4 separate regions of the Homo sapiens genome follow, and all the other regions are linked to region 4. The links are contacts of gene promoters, found by promoter capture Hi-C in blood cells and fetal thymus (Javierre and others, 2016). All regions are on one chromosome and are shown on one strand. The core of a region is centred on a gene start or on the middle of the fragment in contact, and the rest is flanking DNA. Distances in the headings are between cores, read along the strand shown.

Region 1 (4,836 bases), core at 1,350-3,849, 1.0 Mb after region 4:
CTGATCTGAGAACATTAGCAGCAGGAGCACCTTTACTCTTAAATTTAGTTTAATGTAAGTACTGCAAGCCCTGCTGGCAAGCCTCAAGGCACAAACTCTGAATGGGGGGTGGTCAGAGCTGAATGATAAAGTGGAAAAAAAGTTATCAGAGCTGAATGATAAAGTGGAAAAAAAAAAGCATGTTGGAAAAAATATCCCTCAATCAATCTATGTTGGACAGTTTAAGCTTAGAGTCAGGATGGAAGTTGAACAGGCTTTCTCTTTGTTTCTGAACCCCACATCCTACCTTACCTATGCCCATCGGGAAAGTGAATTTTGTTTCTCAGAATCAATACGTGGCCACATAAGGTATTTTGTTTTACACAACAGATAATGTGTGATCTGAATTTTATGACAGAGTTAATATTTTGAATGCAGCAAATATTTAAAGGGGTCCTGTAACAAATTAGTTTCTTATCTAAGTAATTGCCATCTTTTATGCCTTACAAGTTCAAGCAGGGTTTGCAGTACTTCCATTAAATTAAATACCTGTAAAGAAAGCCTTTTGGTCTTTGTTAATATGAGTTGCATCATTTTCCTGGTGTTGGTCAGACAGCATTCTCAGTTCCCATGTGAGCTCCAATTTAGACTCAACAATGAAGAATGGGACTAGTGCTATGAGGTGACTGACCCAGGCCTGTAGCATAAATGGAGCATATCACCACTAGTTATGGCACCTCCTTAGGGTTCTCCCAGATCAACATCTCAGGGGAAAACACACAAGATGGTGTGGCTGCAGGAAGGGAAATTGCTCAGGTTCAGGTGAGTAAGAAAGAAGAAGAATGAAAGATACCTCTTTGGCTGCTACCAAATGAGCTTAGCCCCAGGAGCTCAGGCTGAATCAGCCTGTTAGGAGGACCCACAGGAACCTCCGCCAGTGCTAGCAAGTGGGCAGTGCTACAGTGTGGCATCATCGGGTGCTGAGACAAAGATCAAAAGGCCGCCTGAAGCCATTCCACTGTTGGTATTCAGAAGAAATTTGGTGTACTCTTTGATCTGCTGGTTGGCTCTTGTATCACAGCTACAATCTCTAAGTTTGGCCCCCACATGCAAAGACAAATGAAAATGGAGAAATACAGGATGAAAGGTTTGAGAGTGCTAGGTCAGGCTGAATGTGTCCCATGGTGTGAGCTTAAATTTTTGGCCCCCAAGTAAAATTCTTCAAAGAGTAACTCTCCTGCCCTCTATCCCCAGAGATGCCTTTATCAGGAAACACAAAGGAGGGAGACCTACTACTATGTAAATGGAGGCTACTTGGAGAATGACTATGTCTGAGGCTGACCAGTGTCTGCAGGGTTCAGTCACTTTGGAGTAAAAACTGAGATTAGAGAAATAAAGCCAGTAAACCACAGTAAGCAAGTTTATTATACATCATCACGAGTTCAAAACAAGTAGGATTTTACTAAAAATCATTCATAAGAATTAAAACTTTTCATATTATCCAAGCTCTTTTACTATGAAAGTTTAATGAAAACTACAGAAGAAATATCACTAATTATGCTCCCTAAGTAAAAAAAAAAACATAATTAAGTTTATAAAGAGTCAGTAATAATGTTTATTCTCGGTATCATAATTTTTGGACACTTCTGGCACTCTCTCATGGGTAGATAGGTTGTTTAGTAAAATAAATAGAAAACACACATTTCCTACCAGCTGACATTGATGGCTAAATCACAAAATCAAGCAGGAAATGAGTTTGAAGGCAAGCCATATTTCACGTGACTTACATTTGCAGATTACTGCTGATGGTCTCTCCAGGCTTATAGACTTCAGCCTGAAAATCAGGAAGCAAAGAATAATAGCAAAGAAGAAAAATTTAAAATCATTCAGTAGTGTAACTCCTCTCCCCGCTCCAAGTCATGGAATAAGATTCACTCTTACAACAAATACTTCCTACCATCTAAGTTTAGATGAACTTTTAAAGAAAATCCCCAAGTATAGATCCTATGAGAGAAACTAATCACTAAATCAGTGAAATGCCAAAACATCTGAAATATGTATATGTATTGATGTATTTCAATACAAATGTGACATTAGGGATAACCATTTGTTCTCTCAAATTTACGAGATACAGTTATCTTTGCCAAAAACGGAGAGCATCTCAGTTCCCTTTCTGTTCCCACCTAGTTCTCAACAGGACTAAAGGACTTATCCTATGCCTAGTTTTTCACTCCCCTCAGAGGGTCAGGTGAACTGGGGAGCAAGAGGAACTGGCGCCTTTCCCTACTTCTCTTTCAATTCGTTTATTGAGGTAAGTGGCGAGGGCCTGGACTGAGGAAGCTTGAGAAAGACTGATGGAGGAAGGGCTGGCTGTAGGGGTCAGGGAAGGGGCTGCCTGAAGAACAGCCTGCCTCTCCAAGGAGCTGAGGAAGTCCGGTCCCAACCTCGCCCCTGCCGTCACGAACCTCGGTGCACTGGCCCAGGGAAACAACTCCAGTTTTCCGTTCCGCCGAAGTCAGTCCCCCACCGGCGGCAGGTGCTGGGCGTTGGCGCTGCCCCCTCCTCTCTCAGTGATTCCGAAGCCTGGCTCCGCCGGAGCGGAGACAGGGGACGCCGAGAGCGTCTCCACGGAAACAGAGAGGCGAGGCATGACGGCCGGGGGTGGAGTTAGGCTAAACCGGGCCTCGGGATTGGGGCAGCTCCCAGACTCTTCGGGCTTGGGGGCGGAGTCTGGCGAGGGGTGGAGCTTACTGACGGCCGGGCGGGGCCCCCAGATAGCTGAGGCTTTTCAAGCAGGGCTGCTTTCAGAAGTTAGCTCGCTTTTAGGCATTTTCACGTAACCCAAGAGGCTCGAATTTGCCACTTTCATTTCTTTCGTGGCCTTGCATTCTCAATGCTTTTTCTTCATTTCTCTTTTGTCCACAGGATTGATGGGAAAACGCTGAGCTAGGCATTCATGATCCCCGTGACCTGAAGCCAATTTATCCATCTAGCTAAGTCATTCATTCTCCTCTTCCTCAGCCTCTCTTGCAGTCAGAACCCACCACAAATGCCTTTTCCTGTCATGTCCCCACAGACAATTCAATTTTGAATTGTGGTTCGCTAAATACTCAAGGTCTCTTTCAGAGAATCTCCCTGCATCTGTCCTTATTTGTTTTGCATTTTTACCTGAAACTCAGGGTTTTATATTTACACTAAATAAATATCATCGTATTAATCTCGGCCCATCATTCCATCTCTTCTCTCAGACATGAGTGCAAGGAAGTGAAATTCCTTGCTCATTCCCTCATATATATATGGGGCAAGAGAGTGAGGCTTGCCACTTGTTACTTCTAAAATACAGAAGTGCTGGAAAGTTAGGCTATTGTTCCTTGTCTACTGACACACATTGTAGGAGAACGAGCCAGCGATATTGCTCACACGAATCATTCTATTAACCATAAATCGATTCTATTTAGAGTACAAGCATATCAACCATAACCACACTTTCATTCTAACATCTCATTTGCTGTAACAAATTACTAAATTATTTCCAAGTATGTTTACATTATACATTCAATGAGCACTGTGACTATCTGTAATTGGGCTCCACCCCATCCCCCACACCAGTAAGACTCTCATTCTATTCTCATGAGTTTATTTTCCAGTTTCAGCATCACCTTAACACACTCCACTGTGACCTGTGTGAATTCTTTTCCAGTCCTTGCTGCTTTTTCTGACTTAGAGTCTGTTTGTGAATTCCATGCACCTTCCTTTCTCACAGGAGGCTGTCTTAGTTGGCTTTCTAGGTAGTTCCTTCCTGCTTCTTTGGACTTACTTCTCCTACTTGCTGTTTTTTCACTAGAAGTTCTTTGACTAACTCTCTTTCTCCTTCTGTTTAGCATAGAATTCCTTCAGTTAGAGAACTTTGTTTGCAAGTGACAGAAAACACAAACGGGCTTAAGCAAAAAAGGAAACTGATGAAAACCAAAGGATGCCAGATTCAGCTGCAACTTTATCTAGAAACTCAGGCCTTTCTGAAAGTTTTGAGGATTCCAGAATACCTCTTCCTTTCACTACACAGAATTAATTTCTCCTCCTCTCGCCTCCTTTCTCTTAGACCTACCTTGATTTTATCAGTATAACTTTGCATGGTGTTTGGCTTATGGGAACCAAACTTGCCTGAAAGATTGTGAGTACCTTGAAAGCAGAGACTTTGTTTTATTGTTTTCTGAATTCCCTTGTACCGTATGCAAGGATTAGTATACAGTATGTGCTCAAAAATATTTTTTGAATTAACAGAATGACAGAATAGAGTGGTTTTTCAAACAGATTCTTCCTTGTGTAATTCTTCTCATTGCTTCCTCAATCTTCTCCACCTAGAATTCTAGGGGGAAGGTCAGGTGACACAACTGATAGTTTGAATGCTATTACTGACATAACAACCTCTAAAGTTTCCTCTTCCAGTCTTGCTCTGGAGAAATGATTTTAGGTTAGGTCAGCTCCCTAAAGAAGCAAGAGACAATTTTCTAATGGAAGCCAATCCATCTTAACTGCTCCCCATAATTGTTCTCAAAGTGTTTTTGATATCTCAATCATCAATTTCTACAGTAAAATTATTCTGAATCATTCTTGTTTTACTAAACACATCCCCAAGTAACATCTTAGGAAAGAACATATGAGATAAAATTTTAAGTTCTTTCATGTCTGACAATATCCTTATTTTGCCTACAATCATTTGGTAGGATTGCACATTCTAGATTAACAATCATTTCCCTCTGAATTTAGAAGGTATTATTTCACTGTTTTCTAGTATCCAGTGTTTGGGATGAGAAGTCTAGTGGCAATTTTATTGTCCTTCCTTTGTATGTGATGTAG
Region 2 (4,522 bases), core at 929-3,428, 1.3 Mb before region 4:
GTAAAGAAAAAAAGCCCATGTATTTAAGTAAAAATCTTCTGAGTTGGTTTTCACACTTAGGTTATTCAGTTTGTCTAAATTACATAAGAAGCTTGGAGTAAATTTATTGTTAACATTCTGTATTTTTTCTTAATTTGCTAAGCAGGCATTGTACCTCTGGAGCCACCAAGTTTATGAATATATATTCATTAATCTTTAGATATTCCGTTTGAAAATGACTTCTCATTTCCTCGTATTTGTCCCAGTTACTAATTCCCTTTAAATTGGAATTGACCACCAGCATTGTTTATTAATTTCACCTTAAGATGGTATTGGTTAGTAGACAGTAATGCTGAAACACACATTTTTTTTAAGCAAGCTTGAAATTTCTTTTGAATTGCATTTTGAAATTTTTCTGTAACCCTTCTGGCAAACATCACCTTAAAACTATATTTCTCACTCACATATCCAGTTATAAATATGACCATAGTATGACAGTCTTCCTGCATGCATAATATAGGCATGGAGATTTTGTTGCCTGATGGTAAATATTTCCAAAACAAGATCTAGCCCAAAACTGTGCAAAGAGTTTGATTTAACAATTTAGTTTTTTTTTTCTTTTTACCTCTAAGAGACTTGTTTAACACTATTAGGCAGTTTTCATGTGAATGCTTACCCATTTAAGAAGGGAGGGAAAAGTGCTTCTAATCCTTGAATTTTTTTTCAAAGAAAAATAACTTTCCAATTGCCTTGCCCCTCCCGTGGAGCACTTCCCAGCTGCTTGCCTCTTTTTCTCTGTGCCCCCCACCGCATGCATGTACACACACATACACACACACTCCCAAGGACATCTGCTCTTACTTGCCTGGTTGCCAAGACAAGATCCTTTCCAATAGCCTAGTCAGAAATTGGCAGGGAAGAGTCTCTCTCAGAAAGTTCAGGGTGAGACATTTCACTCAAAAGTTAGGTCAAAATGTACTTCAAGCTTTACAACCATTTGGGACCTTCACATTCTAAGATAAGTTTTAGGTTTGAGGGATCCTAGGTCAAGCACACAGAAAGTAAACTTGTAGTGTCTTTTATGCGCCATTGATGAGTCTCACTTGGCTGATCCCAAATTCTTGTTCTTAGAAATCCTTGCTAAATCTGAATTTGTTATACAACTTCTAAATTTCTACTGAGCTACTCAGTATGTTTATCACAAAATTGATGAGGTGTGAAAATATAATTTGTTATATAAAAATAAAAACTTTAGATATATAATATAAAGTATAAGACCAGAAGCAGCAATTTAGGACCATATATAAGACTGACTCTGGTAATACCGTCATATTTTGAGAGCAGAAATCATTAGAATGTGGAAGTGAGTCTTGCTAATATGTCCCAGAAAGGTAATACCTTATTAACTCAAATTGTAAAAGTAATATCAAAACTTTTTTGCCATAAAGTTATTTCCTTTCATATTCAAAGATAGCTGTCTTTATATGATAAAATATTTAATGTGTAAGAAAAGAAAACACATCTTACTTTTAGATCCTATTAAGTAACTCCGTTGTGTTTTTGTTTTGGCTTGTTGATATGTCAGCTTTTCTGTTTGAGACGATTGAAGGAATATTTTAAATATAATTTTTCTATTACACATTAATCATTATCTCCTATAAGTGAGGTGCAGGAAAAAGGCACTTATATATTTGAAAATGGAGGCTCTGTTATAAGCACCAATTCATTGCTTGATCATTACACAGTGAGTCAGTTGTTTATTATAGCATATAATGACCTTGTGTTATTCATTAGATTTATTATTTAATCTTATGTAAGTGGCAATACACTAAGACTTGTAAAATGACCAAAACTGGCACCTGATGGCCTGTCTCCTTCTTGATTCTTGTTTGTTCATCTGAGGAAGTTATTTAGTATTGTAGGAAAAAATGCTAAATACTGATGAGATATGCTCACAGGTACAACATACAGTAACTAGAGAATCTTGAAAAGACATCAATGCAATAGCAAGATAAATGCTGAGTTTGTCTTATTTGTACTTCATGGGAGCCTTTTAATACTCAACACAATATTATTTCACTTTTACCACAATTTTTAAATTTAGTTTAAAACACAAATGGGAATCCCAACCCCCGATATTTTTCATTCTTTTTATTTAGTATTTATTTATTTATTTATTTATTTATTTATTTTTTCAGAAGGTGTCTCGCTCTGTGGCTCAGGCTAGAGTGCAGTGGTGTGTTCTTGGTTCGCTCCAACCTCCACCTCCCGGTTCAAGTGATTCTCCTGCCTCAGCCTCCCGAATAGCTAGGATTATAGGCGCATGCCACCATGCCCTGCTAATTTTTATATTTTTAGTAGAGACGGGGTTTCGCCATGTTGACCAGGTTGGTCTCAAACTCCTGACCTCAGGTGATCCACCCACCTCAGCCTCACAAAGTGGTGGGATTACAGGACTGTTTTTATTTCAGTCTAGGTTCTTCCTAAAATATCCACCTAGTTTCCCAAAATTCTTTTCCTCATCTTATATCTTTCAAATAAGGTGGTTTTACTATGACATTAGGTGCTTCTAATGAGTCTTTTTATATTTTTTAAAGGTTTCCTTCAAACAACTGCGGATGAGTTTTGCTTTTACTATGCAAGAAAAGATGGTGGGTTGTGCTTTCCAGATTTTCCAAGAAAACAAGTCAGAGGACCAGCATCTAACTACTTGGACCAGATGGAAGAATATGACAAAGTGGAAGAGATCAGCAGGTTCATAAAGATAAATGCTCTTTAATCTTTTTAAAAAAACCCAACTGACAAATCTTGTGGTTTTGACAGTGAATCAACTGTCTGTGCTTATGTTCAGCAGCTATATCCTCCAGATGCTTTAGTTTTTTCTCTGTGGTAGTTTGTTTCTCTAAAATTCTAGCTTAAATGCTTTTAATACTTAGACTACTAATCGTATATTATGAGCTTGGCTTCTCTATGACTCATGTCAATTTTATGGGTATAGTTTTAAGCCTGAATTTTATGATTGTTGTTAGTCTATGGCACTGTGAAAATGTTCAGCACAATTACCATTAGCAAATCAGGTTTTTCTAAATAGATCTTAGAACTTTCTCTCTACATGCCTTCCATAAGGTTTATTTATTGTGAGTAAAACTAATTTTAATTATAGTCGCTGAAATATGAGAAAATGAGATTATGACATTTGAAAATATATACATGTTTTGATTCTCTTATTTTACTTTCTGAAAGAAGGCTGTTTTGTTTTTTGCCATTGAAAGAATTTAAAAGAACCACTTAAAAGAATTATATTGTGACCCTTGGGTTAGCAAGCACTTCATGGTTCTCAAAACCATGATTCCTAGAGGAAATAGAGTTTGAAAAGGATGCCAAGTGCATCCCTTATCTCCTTCATCTCAAGAAAAGCTTACCGGTTTTCTTTAATTTGTTTAGAAAGCACAAACACAACTGCTTCTGTATTCAGGAGGTTGTGAGTGGGCTGCGGCAGCCCGTTGGTGCCCTGCATAGTGGGGATGGCTCGCAACGTCTCTTCATTCTGGAAAAAGAAGGTTATGTGAAGATACTTACCCCTGAAGGAGAAATTTTCAAGGAGCCTTATTTGGACATTCACAAACTTGTTCAAAGTGGAATAAAGGTTGGCTTTTTAAATTTTATTTATTTTTGTGCTGGCTACGTTAATTTTATTTTAGTGTTACCTTCCTCACTGAAGGTATTTCTTTGTAATAAAAGAAAGAATCTTGCAGGAGAAAATAAGGGGGCAACATAAGAAACAATAATTATGGCACCTGAATTAGGACAGTGACATTAAATTTCTGTTATTTGTTGACTATTGTGCGCTGCAATCGAATTGATATTTGACATGCTTTCCCCATGTAATTGACACATTTAAAGGAATCTTTGGCTTTATAAAGTATTGTTTAAATATTGTTTAATGGGCATAACACAGGACTGTACATCAGCATTTGCTAGTAGAAACAAAGAGGTCTTTTGGTTATTTTGGCAATTGCAAATCATTCTTTCACCATCTCTGTTTTTGAGTCTGTCTCATAAAAAATACTACTTATACTACAACTTCCTTGTACAATGTTTTTACAGGTAAGTCAAATATTTCTATAATTAGCCACCTATAAAACATATATTGCCCTCTTTTTCACTTCTCTAATTTGAATTCTCATTTTAAATAACCTAGGTATGTAAACAAAATTATTGTCAAGTTTGTTTCACAAGAGTGACACAGTATAACATTAGCAGTACTAAACCATAAAGCAAATTATGACGTTCTAAAATTAAGACACATTTAATAGCTCATGCCTATTTTAGAATGAAACAAAGTAACAATATGATTTGGGAAGAACTGGTTATCCTTTTCATTTCTTAACTGAAAAAAAAAAACCTGAAGGAGGATTTATAGTCTTCTACTCACATAGAAATGAACTCTTTCTTGCTTTGTTGTGCTGTACTCCAGTGGTAAGAAGACCCAAATCAGAAGAAACAAGTCAGGAAAAATATAGATATATTCCTGCTATCTATT
Region 3 (4,865 bases), core at 1,536-4,035, 1.8 Mb after region 4:
AATAAAACAAAATTAATCAGGCCCCTCCACTCATGGTAATTATTGTGGACCTATTTGGTAATGAATTAAGATTCATATTCACTAGCTCTTTAACACTGGGTGTACATGTGTGTGAAGTGATAAGTAATATTTTTTATGATGTTTTGACATTGTTTTAAACAACTTTTTTTTTTCTCCAAATATCTAAAGAACTGGGCACACTGAATAAACCAGAGTTTTTACGGCTTGAAGTCTAATGTGGTAAAGGAGAAGCAGTTCTAGAGTAGTTCATCTTAAAAAAAATTTTTTATTGAGATATATTTCACAGACCAAAAGAAATCCACCCATTTATCACATACAATTAAGTGATTTTGAGTATATTCAGAATTGTGCAACCATTACCAAAATGTAAATTTAAATTGTTTTCGGCCAGGCTCGGCGGCTCACTCCCATAACTCCAGCAATTTGGGAGACCAAGGTGGGAGCATCATTTGAACTAAGGAGTTTGAGAAAAGCCTGGGCAACATAGTGAGACCCTATCTCTATGAAAAATAAAAATATTAATAATTTTCATCACCCTGAAAATAAACTCCTGACTACATATACCCTCCACTCTATCCCCCAGTCTCTAGCAACCACTAATCTTTCTGCCTCTATAGATTTACCTGTTTTGGACATTTAATATAAGTAGATAGTATTGGCCTTTTGCAGCTAGGTTCTTTTACTTAGTATAACGTTTTCACCGTTATTGTGCCGTAGCACGTGTCAGTACTTCATTCCTTTTTATTGTAGATTAATATTTCATTTTATGGACAAACATTTTGTGCATCCATTACACAGCTGACAAAGGACATTTTGGTTGATTCTACTTTTTGGCTATTACGAATAATGCTGCTATGAATATTTGTGTGTAAATATTTGCGTGGACATATATTTTCATTTCTTTTGGGTATATATCTAAGCGTGGACTTGCTGGGTCACACGGTAACCTCCATGTTCAATATTGAAGAAGTCTCAGCAGCCCCTCTATGAGAAAAGGTTTGGGTTTCTGCTCTGAGGATTGAGTGTGGTCAGTGCTTGGCTGTTTCGCTAGGCCCTCATTTTTGTTTACACCCCCTCTCTTCTTGTCTTTCTTCCCCTTTATTTGCCTCTTTTATTCTCTTTTCTGTAGACTCCAGTCTCCTGCTGGTTTTAGTAGGAACTGAAGCTTTCACCGCCTAAAAGTTATTTGTAAAACACTTTGAACTCTCTGGAGGATGGACATTAGAGTAATAATGTTTATCTGTGGGTTAGGCACTCCTGGTGCTGTTTTGTAACAAAAGGGCTTATTGAGTAGGAGGCTTATTTAACTTGTTCGGGAGGGTTACCCTCCTACAACATGCTGTCCAAACAGATTCTTAATTACCCAGCTGAGAGTCTGAACGTCTTGAGGAATTACTTTGAAGTTTCTCGTTAATATTACCATCATATCATGTAAGTCTATATCGCGAGTTTGTAGATGTATGGAGTTCCTAGTGGGTGCCCGGCACATAATAATTGCTTAATAAATTGCGATTATGAAACGTTACTCTAATGAACTATTAGTGTTTTTTTTTAAGAAATACTTTTTTTTTTTTTTGAGACATTGTCTCGCTCTGTCGCCCAGGCTGGAGTGCAGTGGCACCATCACGACTCACTGCAACCTCCGCCTCCTGGGTTCAAGCGATTCTCCTGCCTCAGCTGGGACTACAGGCACGTGCCACCGCACCCGGGTACTTTTTGTATTTTAAGTAGAGACGGGGTTTCACCATGTTAGCCAGCTGGTCTCCAACTCCTGACCTCAGGTGATCTACCCGCCTCCGTCTCCCAAAGTGTTGGGATTACAGGCGTGAGCCACCACGTCCGGCCTAAGGTATACATTTTAATACTTTAAAATGCCTAACTTTTTTTGGGACACACTGGAGTTGTTTCATAACACACAAAATAGGCTTTTTGAGGGCACTGACATAAATTCTCATTGATCGTCACCCCCACGCGGTGAAAACCACACGTTACCTGGCATGTTTTCCGGTAGTTATTTTTAGAATAATAAAGATCGTCTTCACCTACCCCAGCAAATTTAATGTGCTGAACACAACAGAAACAACTTTTCTGTGGTTTAGCCAGCCCTCTCTCTTCAACTAAGTTATTTAGTGCGGATACGCAGAGAAGTGTAATAGGAGCTGCTGGGCCACCAAGAAAACGCTCTTGCCATTGTAAGGCTTCGATCTCAAGCGGAGATTTACCACGCATCTCACTTTAAACTGGGAAAGGAACCGGGATAAGGAAAAGAGCCCCCTGTGCGAGTTCGTTCCCAGCTCGGGGTTGGGGGCGTCCCAGGATAAATGAGATAAATGAGTTAATCATCTCCTGCAAGGCAGCCACTTCAGAGTTATGTCGCCCGCCTGCGGGGACTAACGACTGCAATTAAGACGCTCCTTCTCGGTCCCGGTCGGGTTCCGTGCAGCGGGGAGCCGACTGTGAGTCACCCCGGCCCCGGGAGCCCAAGCAAAGGGGAGGGGAGAGCGCCCAGGGTGGAGGGGAGCCGCGGGGCGAAATTCTAGCCCCAGGACGCCTCGGAAGGAAGAGGAGGGGCAGCTGCGCGTGGGGAAGAGAAGGAAGAGGCGTCCAGGGAAGGGAAGGGAGGAAGAAGGAAGGCGGAGGAAAGAGAAGGGGACGAGCGGGAGCGCGGGCCCGGCCGGGTGGCGCCTCGGGGAGTGTCTGCCGCGCGGGGGCCGGGCGGGGCGGGGCCGCGGGCGCTCAGAGCTCGGCGGGGGCTGCCGGGATTGGGGCGCCGCAGCTAGCGCTGGTCTCGGTGGCAGCTCCTCCGCGCCGCAGGACTCGGCTCTACGGGACATGTCCGTGCCGCGCTCGCCGCGCGCCCGGGCCTGCTAGCTCCTCTGTGCTCCCTGAACGCGCGGCGCCGCACCTGGCAGCGGCCTCGGAGCTCGGCTCGGGCAGGAGCGCGCGGCCGTGCGCACCGCGCAGCGACCGCTGCCGTCATGGGGCTGCAGCCCCTGGAGTTCAGCGACTGCTACCTCGACAGCCCGTGGTTCCGGGAGAGGATCCGCGCTCACGAAGCGGAACTCGAGAGGACCAACAAGTTCATCAAAGAGCTCATTAAGGACGGGAAGAACCTCATCGCTGCGACGAAAAGTAAGCGGGGACGCGGGCGCGGACGGGCTGCGGCGTGGCGAGGCGGCTGGGGGAGCCTCTCTCGGCAGGAGACGGAGGGTCTTGTGTCCGGGGCCAGCAGCCAGAGGAACGGGGAATTCATTCCGGACCAGCCCAGCTCTCTCGGAACCCCGGGGGGTCCCTGGAATCATTCCTCCTCGAGGCAGCGCGGCGAGTCCCCATTCCCGCCCCTGCGGCTCTGCGGCGGCGGGAACCAGCTGCCAGCGGGCCCCGCCTGGGCCCCGCCTGGCCCCGGCCGAACACCCCTCGCTGAATGCGCGCTCCGCTGGACCGACCCTAGGCACTCCTGGCCCGGAGTCAGGTTTCATTGCTGCCTAAAGCTACTCACAATCTCTTACAAAACCGAGGCATCTGTTTGCCTAGTTTTGTTTTGTGACTTCTCAAAAGAAATTTCTTGGGGATTCTTTGAAACCCTGCGGGAGTGTTGAGTTTTCCAGAGTCCCCTTAAGCTTCACCTTTTCCCTCTCATTGTCTGATCTTCCCCGACAGTCCTGTTCCAGGTCCTTCACGTGCCAAACCAGAAAGTCCACCTGGCTTTATGCTGCTTCCGCACATTCCTCCCCTGCCGTGCTGAGGAGGGTTCAAAGATTGGGGTTTGGAAGGGTGAGCGGACAGCCTGCCCTCTAGCCTAGGCGGGCACTGCTTGCAAATAGGGAATTCCACCCCGGTTAGGCTTGGTGCCTTCCTCCCCTGAACTTCTGTCTCTTAAACTCGGAAGAAGACACGAGATACAGGAGAGATAACTGTATTTTAGTGTAGTTGAGGAGAGTCTTTCTAGGAGAGAAGGGGCCAAAATTCATGCAGAAATACTGAGTTAGTGATGCTACTGGAAAATGGGGCGGAATTAGCCCCAGTGAGGAGCTGGGCAGCCTGACCATCCCTTGGATCCATAACCCCTTCGGAGGATGGCGGTGAATGTCCCCTTTCCCCCTTTAAAAGACCTGTCCATACAGCAGACAGGGACTTGGGCAGTATCCAGCCTTGAGGGGCTGGGTTCTTAGGGCCTTCATCACTCACCTAGATTCTCAGTTCAGTAATTCTCAGCCTTAGGTATTCGTCCCTTGTACATTTGTTTGTAGATACCACCTCTGGGGAAAATCCCCCATCTCACTGTTCTCCCGACCGCGCCCCGCCCCATTTTTCAGTAAGGGCGATTAAAACATATTGATTATACTGTCTCGGGCACCCAGCATGGTGCCTGGTACAGTAAATATGCATTTAATGAATAAGTTGAAGTACATTTCTGTGGGAAGAATTTAGTGAGCCATCCCTGTAATTTTGGAGGCAAGTCACTCAACTTCTCTGGATGATCTCCAAGGTTCCTTTTGGTTCTCTGACCTCTTTGGTGTTGCAAAATCAGGACTGGGACTCACTTAGGGTTTTTTTGTTTTGTTTTTAAGTCTCTGCTGCTTGAATCAGAAATGGGACTCTGGGACATGTGACAAGTGGGCTTATTTGGTTGAGGGCTCTCCAGGCCCTTGGCATCTGGTATGTGTGTTGGGTGGGAAGTAGGGGGGCGCCTATACATATGGAGGAGTGAGCATAGAAAGGAGGAGTTGGGAGCGGGGGTGCAGAGTGAACACGAGAGAATGAGGACTGAGGACTCTTTCTGTAACTTGATGTTAACCAGAGTCAGTGGCCGGGAGAATGTACCTTCTCTCTCATTGGTTGTA
Region 4 (4,439 bases), core at 830-3,329:
CGAGACACCATAACCTTAACCCTTCCCCCACCCTCCGTGAACTTCAGGTGACCGACCACGTCGGCCTGACACCCGGGCGGGCGGGCGCTCCGGCTCCACTCCCGCCCCCAGCCCGGGTTTTGCAGGATCGGGCTCCGAGCAGCGCCAAACCGCCGGGAGAGGGGAGTAGTGTGGGGGGAGAGAAGAGAAATTGACCCTCCGTCTCCCCCGACCCCTCCCTCCGGCGCCTCCCGCGTCCCCTCCTCCCCGTCACCCCGCCCCACGCCTTCTCCCCTGCCCCCTCTTCCCTGCATTCAAGGAGCCGGGCGGCCCCGGGGGATATTTTTAGTTGCTTCTTTCTCCTTCACTTTTAGCTTTAGCAGCATCTCGAAACACTCAAAGCGGAGAAAGACTGGGGGGTTGGGGGGAGCTGGAGAGGGAGTGGGGGAAAAGTTAAGAGTCGCGCAAAGAAAAGCCGGAGGGAGGGCGGAGAGGGACCGGGGGCGCGGGTGGAGGAGGGGAAGGGGACCGGGCCGTGCCGGCGGGTGTGTGTCTCCAGTTGGCGTGTGTGGCTGCCGCCGGGGAGGGCTGTGATGCACTTTAGTCCTGGACTCTGCTCAGGCTCGCCAAGGAGGGGGTCTGAGAGCCCGAGTCTCGCCCGGCTCCGTCTGCTCCGACTGACCCCGCATTTTATTGCGGCCAGGAGCCCTGCTCCTCCCTCTCCTCCGCTCTGCAGGGACCTCGCGCGCCGCGAGCCGCCCTGCCTCCTGCCTTCGCCTCGGCGCAGCTCCCGCACCCCACATCCGCCCGCCGCTGCCCGGCCTCGCCCCCCGCCCGGCCGCCCCGCGCCCCGGCGCGCCCCCTCGCCTCGGCGCCGCGGGAGCAGCCGCCCGGCGGCGCGTGTGTACCCGTGTGTTTGTGTGCGGTGCCCCTACACCCTCCCCAGCCGCTCCCGCCTCGCCCGCCCCCGACTCCCCTCCTCCGCCGCCGCCTCCTCCACCTCCGCCTCCTCCTGCTCCAGCCGCCGCCGCCGCTGCCGCCGGCGGCTCGGGGGCCGACCAACCCCGGCGCAACCTTTAGCCAGGGACGGACCTCTCCCTGGATCCTGTACCCGGCGGCTGCTGCGCGCCCTCTCCCCGACACCCCCAAACGCCATGTCACGGCCCCCAGCCCTCCGCGCGCCCCGACCCCCGCACCCTCAGGCGCCGGAATCCACAAGGAATTTTTTTTTTTTTAAGATTCCAACCTCTCCCACCTCCCCCCACCAAACCCCCGATAAAACCCCCGGCATCCACACTACTCCCCTCCTCCCTTCTCTTGCCCCCTCCCCCCAGCAACCCAGAGTGAGGAGGGGGAAGGGGAGGGAAAGGGAAAAAAAAGCCCGATCTCAAGGAAAAAAAGGGGGGGGGTGAGAGAAAGAAAGAAAAAGAGAGAGAGAATAGAAAGGGCACGGGGCTGATCATCACCAACATGGCTGCCTCAGCATAGACCTAAACGAGGAGTAACCCGGGCTGTGTCTTTGTCAGTTTCACCTCTGTAACCCTAAACTAATGCAGAAAACAACGGAGGAGGCTGCGGAGGGGAAAGAGGAGAGGGAGGGCGAGAAAATGGCACGAGAGGAGGTGGAGAAGGGATGACTTACGTGAGGGAAGGCGCTTGGGCTGCTCCTGCTTCCTCCTGGGCATTTTCCCCCTTTTCTCACATTCTCCTCCTTGGTTAATGTGAGATCAAATAAACCCCCGTGGGGGCAGAGAGGCAGACACTGGCAGGAGCGGGGAGGTAGTTGGGGGGCGGGCGGGCGGGCAGGGGGAAACCCCTTCTCCGGTGTGTGCAATGGGTTGAAGCTTGTTTCCTGGAGCCAGAAGAGGGGTTTTCTTCTTTTCTTTCCTTTCTTTTTTCCTTTTTTTTTTTTTTTTAAATTTTTGGTCGTGCACCTGGCTTGTCCCCGAGCGTAATATTCTTCAATGGAAACGGATCTAATAGGTGTGAGTGTGTGTGTGTCCTATGCTCGCGTGTGTGATGGGAGGTATAAATAAATGAGTGCCGGTGCGGCGGTGTCTATGGCCGCGCTCTGTGTCTCCGAGCCCCTAACACTAATGTCGGGATCAAAGGGCAGCGGCGGCGGCAGCACAGCTCACAGCTCGCTCTCTTGCTCTCTCTCTCTCTCTTTCTCGCTCTCTCTCCTCTCGCGCTCTCTCTCTCGCTCTCTCTCTGTCACACACACACACACACAAGAGGCACAGACTGAGGGAAAGAGCGAGAGCTACACACACACACACGCACGCACACACACACACAGAGCAAAGAGGAAAGTGCCCCAAGGCTCCCAGGGCGGACTCAGCCTCGGATTTACAACCGCTCTGTCTGGAAAGAATGGGGGGCGCGCGTGCGGGGGTGGGATGGAGTTCTTCAAATTTATCCCGCTAGTCACCAAATCTAGGGGGAAAAAGTTTTTCTCACTCTTTAAACAACGATTAGTTCATTATTTTACTGACTTTTAAAAAGGAAATAAATTTCTCTCTTCACTTTCTTTTGTTTATTAAGCTACATTTTGTTCTGTATGAAATTCTGCAGGCTTTTGTCCCTACCCCATCACCTTAAATCTGGAGGTTATCGTCTCCCACACACTCTTCAAAAACATTCCAAAAAAACTAATTTAAAAAAAATGAAGACAACATATGGTGAAATCAATAACTTGGTTGACAGTTGACAGAATAAGTGCCCAGTTTTGGAGTGTCCACTGGAGTTAAAACTGAAAAATGCTCCTAAATGAACATTACAGCTACTTGACAAAGAGAGGAAAATAAGATTAGGTCACCCCTGATGGTTGCTTTAACTGCTACGTGATACTCCTAGAGTGCACACAGCAATCTTTACTTCGGAAATTCACTTTTTCCCCTGCTATATACTGCAGGTATATGAAGTTTACCCTGAAGCAATTCCAGTGTGCATTATGAGCCCAATATAGCAGTTTTCATTAACTGATACATACTTTCATTACCTTACAAATCACACATCTTTCTTCAAAGAGAGACATAAAGGAGAAAAATAGAAAAGGACGGGTCTCACTAGAGCACAAAAGGTACTTGGTGAAAGAGGACTGTTCTCTTTGTGACTTGCAGTCATTTGGATAAAAGTTCACTCAGAGGTTGTTAATGATTTAAACTCCAAAACCTGCTACTATAATTGAAATAAAAATGGTCTGAAGAAGAGTTGTTTCATAAAACTCTCTTTGTAAGAGGAAACTTTGAACTTAGCAGAATACATTATATGTCATGAGTCATGTAGCTAGAAAATAAAAAGGTGCATTATTTAACTACATCTTCCCTTTTTAGCTTTTTTAAAACTCTGACTCATCATCTTATTATGTTAAATATTTTCCTACCAATTTTTAAATAGACCTTTTCATCAAAGAAAGTGGAGGCACAGTAAAGACATAGAACATTAAAATGACACTCTATAAGCCTACATGGATAACTCATGCCTCTTTGAGGTTGAGTTAATTCTTACAACTTCAGTGGTGTTAAAGAGAGCCATGGGGGTTAAATTCTGACTTGCCTTATTAAAAATAATAATAAGGCTTTATATTGCACACTTTTATAAGTGAAGCTTAAAGAGTGCTGTATCTCCCAAAAGATGTCTTTCACTGATAGAGAAATCTCACGTTCAACCCCTCCCTGCCAACTCCCCCCAAAAGATCTAGCTTCCCAGTAACAAGTAATGCTATTGAAAGCGAGGTTTGAAACACCTGCATGAATTCAATCTAAAACCAAAACAGAGAGCAGTCAAGTTTAAAATGGAGCACCCTGTAATCCCAGCACTTTGGGAGGCGGAAGTGGGCAGATCACGAGGTCAAGAGATCGAGACCATCCTGGCCAACATGGTGAAATCCCGTCTCTACTAAAAATACAAAAATTAGCTGGATGTAGTGGCACACTCCTGTAGTCCCAGCTACTTGGGAGACTGAGGCAGGAGAATCGCTTGAACCTGGGAGGCGGAGGTTGCAGTGAGCCGAGATCGGGCCACTGCACTCCAGCCTGGCGACAGAGCGAGACTCCATCTCAAAAAAAAAAAAAAAAAAAAAAAAGGAGCATCATCCTTAAACCAGTTCTTCCTCAAATGTTGGTTTTAAAAAACTGGTAGTTAGGTTGCCCTGCATTATAATTTGAAATATAACTATCTTTCCACTCAGGTCAAATTCAATTTGCCATAATTTTGACTATTGTCGGTGACATTGGACTTGAAATTAATATATTAATGATAAATTAGAGCCCATCCTTTCCAAGTAGACCAATGCTCTGAGTGTGTAGAATCTTTACAGCTGAACAAAATGGTCACCACACTTCACCACTGCTCTCTCAGAACCTTTGGCTAGGGTGTTCAGGATTATGACTCTGCATAGACACACCACTACCTTTTCTGAATTGCTAGGACTCTTCCTAATGTTTAGTTTGCTATAA

What was found. Contacts are between HindIII fragments. The CHiCAGO score rates a contact against its expected background, and 5 or more counts as called.
Region 1: a contact is called between the fragment with the promoter of TTC29 here and the fragment with the promoter of ZNF827 in region 4, in 2 of 17 cell types (fetal thymus and M2 macrophages). The highest score is 8.8, in fetal thymus.
Region 2: a fragment that was not itself captured here is called in contact with the fragment with the promoter of ZNF827 in region 4 in 1 of 17 cell types (fetal thymus); the score reaches 5.6 in fetal thymus.
Region 3: the fragment with the promoter of ARHGAP10 here is called in contact with the fragment with the promoter of ZNF827 in region 4 in 1 of 17 cell types (fetal thymus); the score reaches 7.7 in fetal thymus.

The regions. Positions count from the first base shown.
Region 1 is chr4:146,943,265-146,948,100 of GRCh38, forward strand. It overlaps TTC29 (tetratricopeptide repeat domain 29), which reads right to left and starts at 2,600. Exons shown (of 13, transcript NM_031956.4): 1 at 2,445-2,600; 2 at 1,767-1,813. TTC29-AS1 (TTC29 antisense RNA 1) reads left to right here. Exons shown (of 7, transcript NR_188447.1): 3 at 2,167-2,290. RefSeq lists a silencer at 2,593-2,732. The HindIII fragment of the contact is 10,093 bases long and covers 2,318-4,836 here.
Region 2 is chr4:144,656,214-144,660,735 of GRCh38, forward strand. It overlaps HHIP (hedgehog interacting protein), which reads left to right. Exons shown (of 13, transcript NM_022475.3): 3 at 2,577-2,733; 4 at 3,424-3,625. Among named protein-coding and RNA genes, the nearest start is that of HHIP, 12 kb to the left of the region's middle. The HindIII fragment of the contact is 2,432 bases long and covers 963-3,394 here.
Region 3 is chr4:147,729,303-147,734,167 of GRCh38, forward strand. ARHGAP10 (Rho GTPase activating protein 10) reads left to right here and starts at 2,786. Exons shown (of 23, transcript NM_024605.4): 1 at 2,786-3,153. The coding sequence starts at 3,000. RefSeq lists enhancers at 2,397-3,289, 3,290-4,182, 3,503-3,572, 4,701-4,830 and silencers at 2,483-3,002, 3,313-3,392. The HindIII fragment of the contact is 2,455 bases long and covers 1,185-3,639 here.
Region 4 is chr4:145,936,744-145,941,182 of GRCh38, forward strand. It overlaps ZNF827 (zinc finger protein 827), which reads right to left and starts at 2,080. Exons shown (of 15, transcript NM_001306215.2): 1 at 1,622-2,080. The coding sequence starts at 1,664. RefSeq lists silencers at 1-322, 423-832, 953-1,022 and an enhancer at 1,397-1,456. The HindIII fragment of the contact is 1,765 bases long and covers 1,822-3,586 here.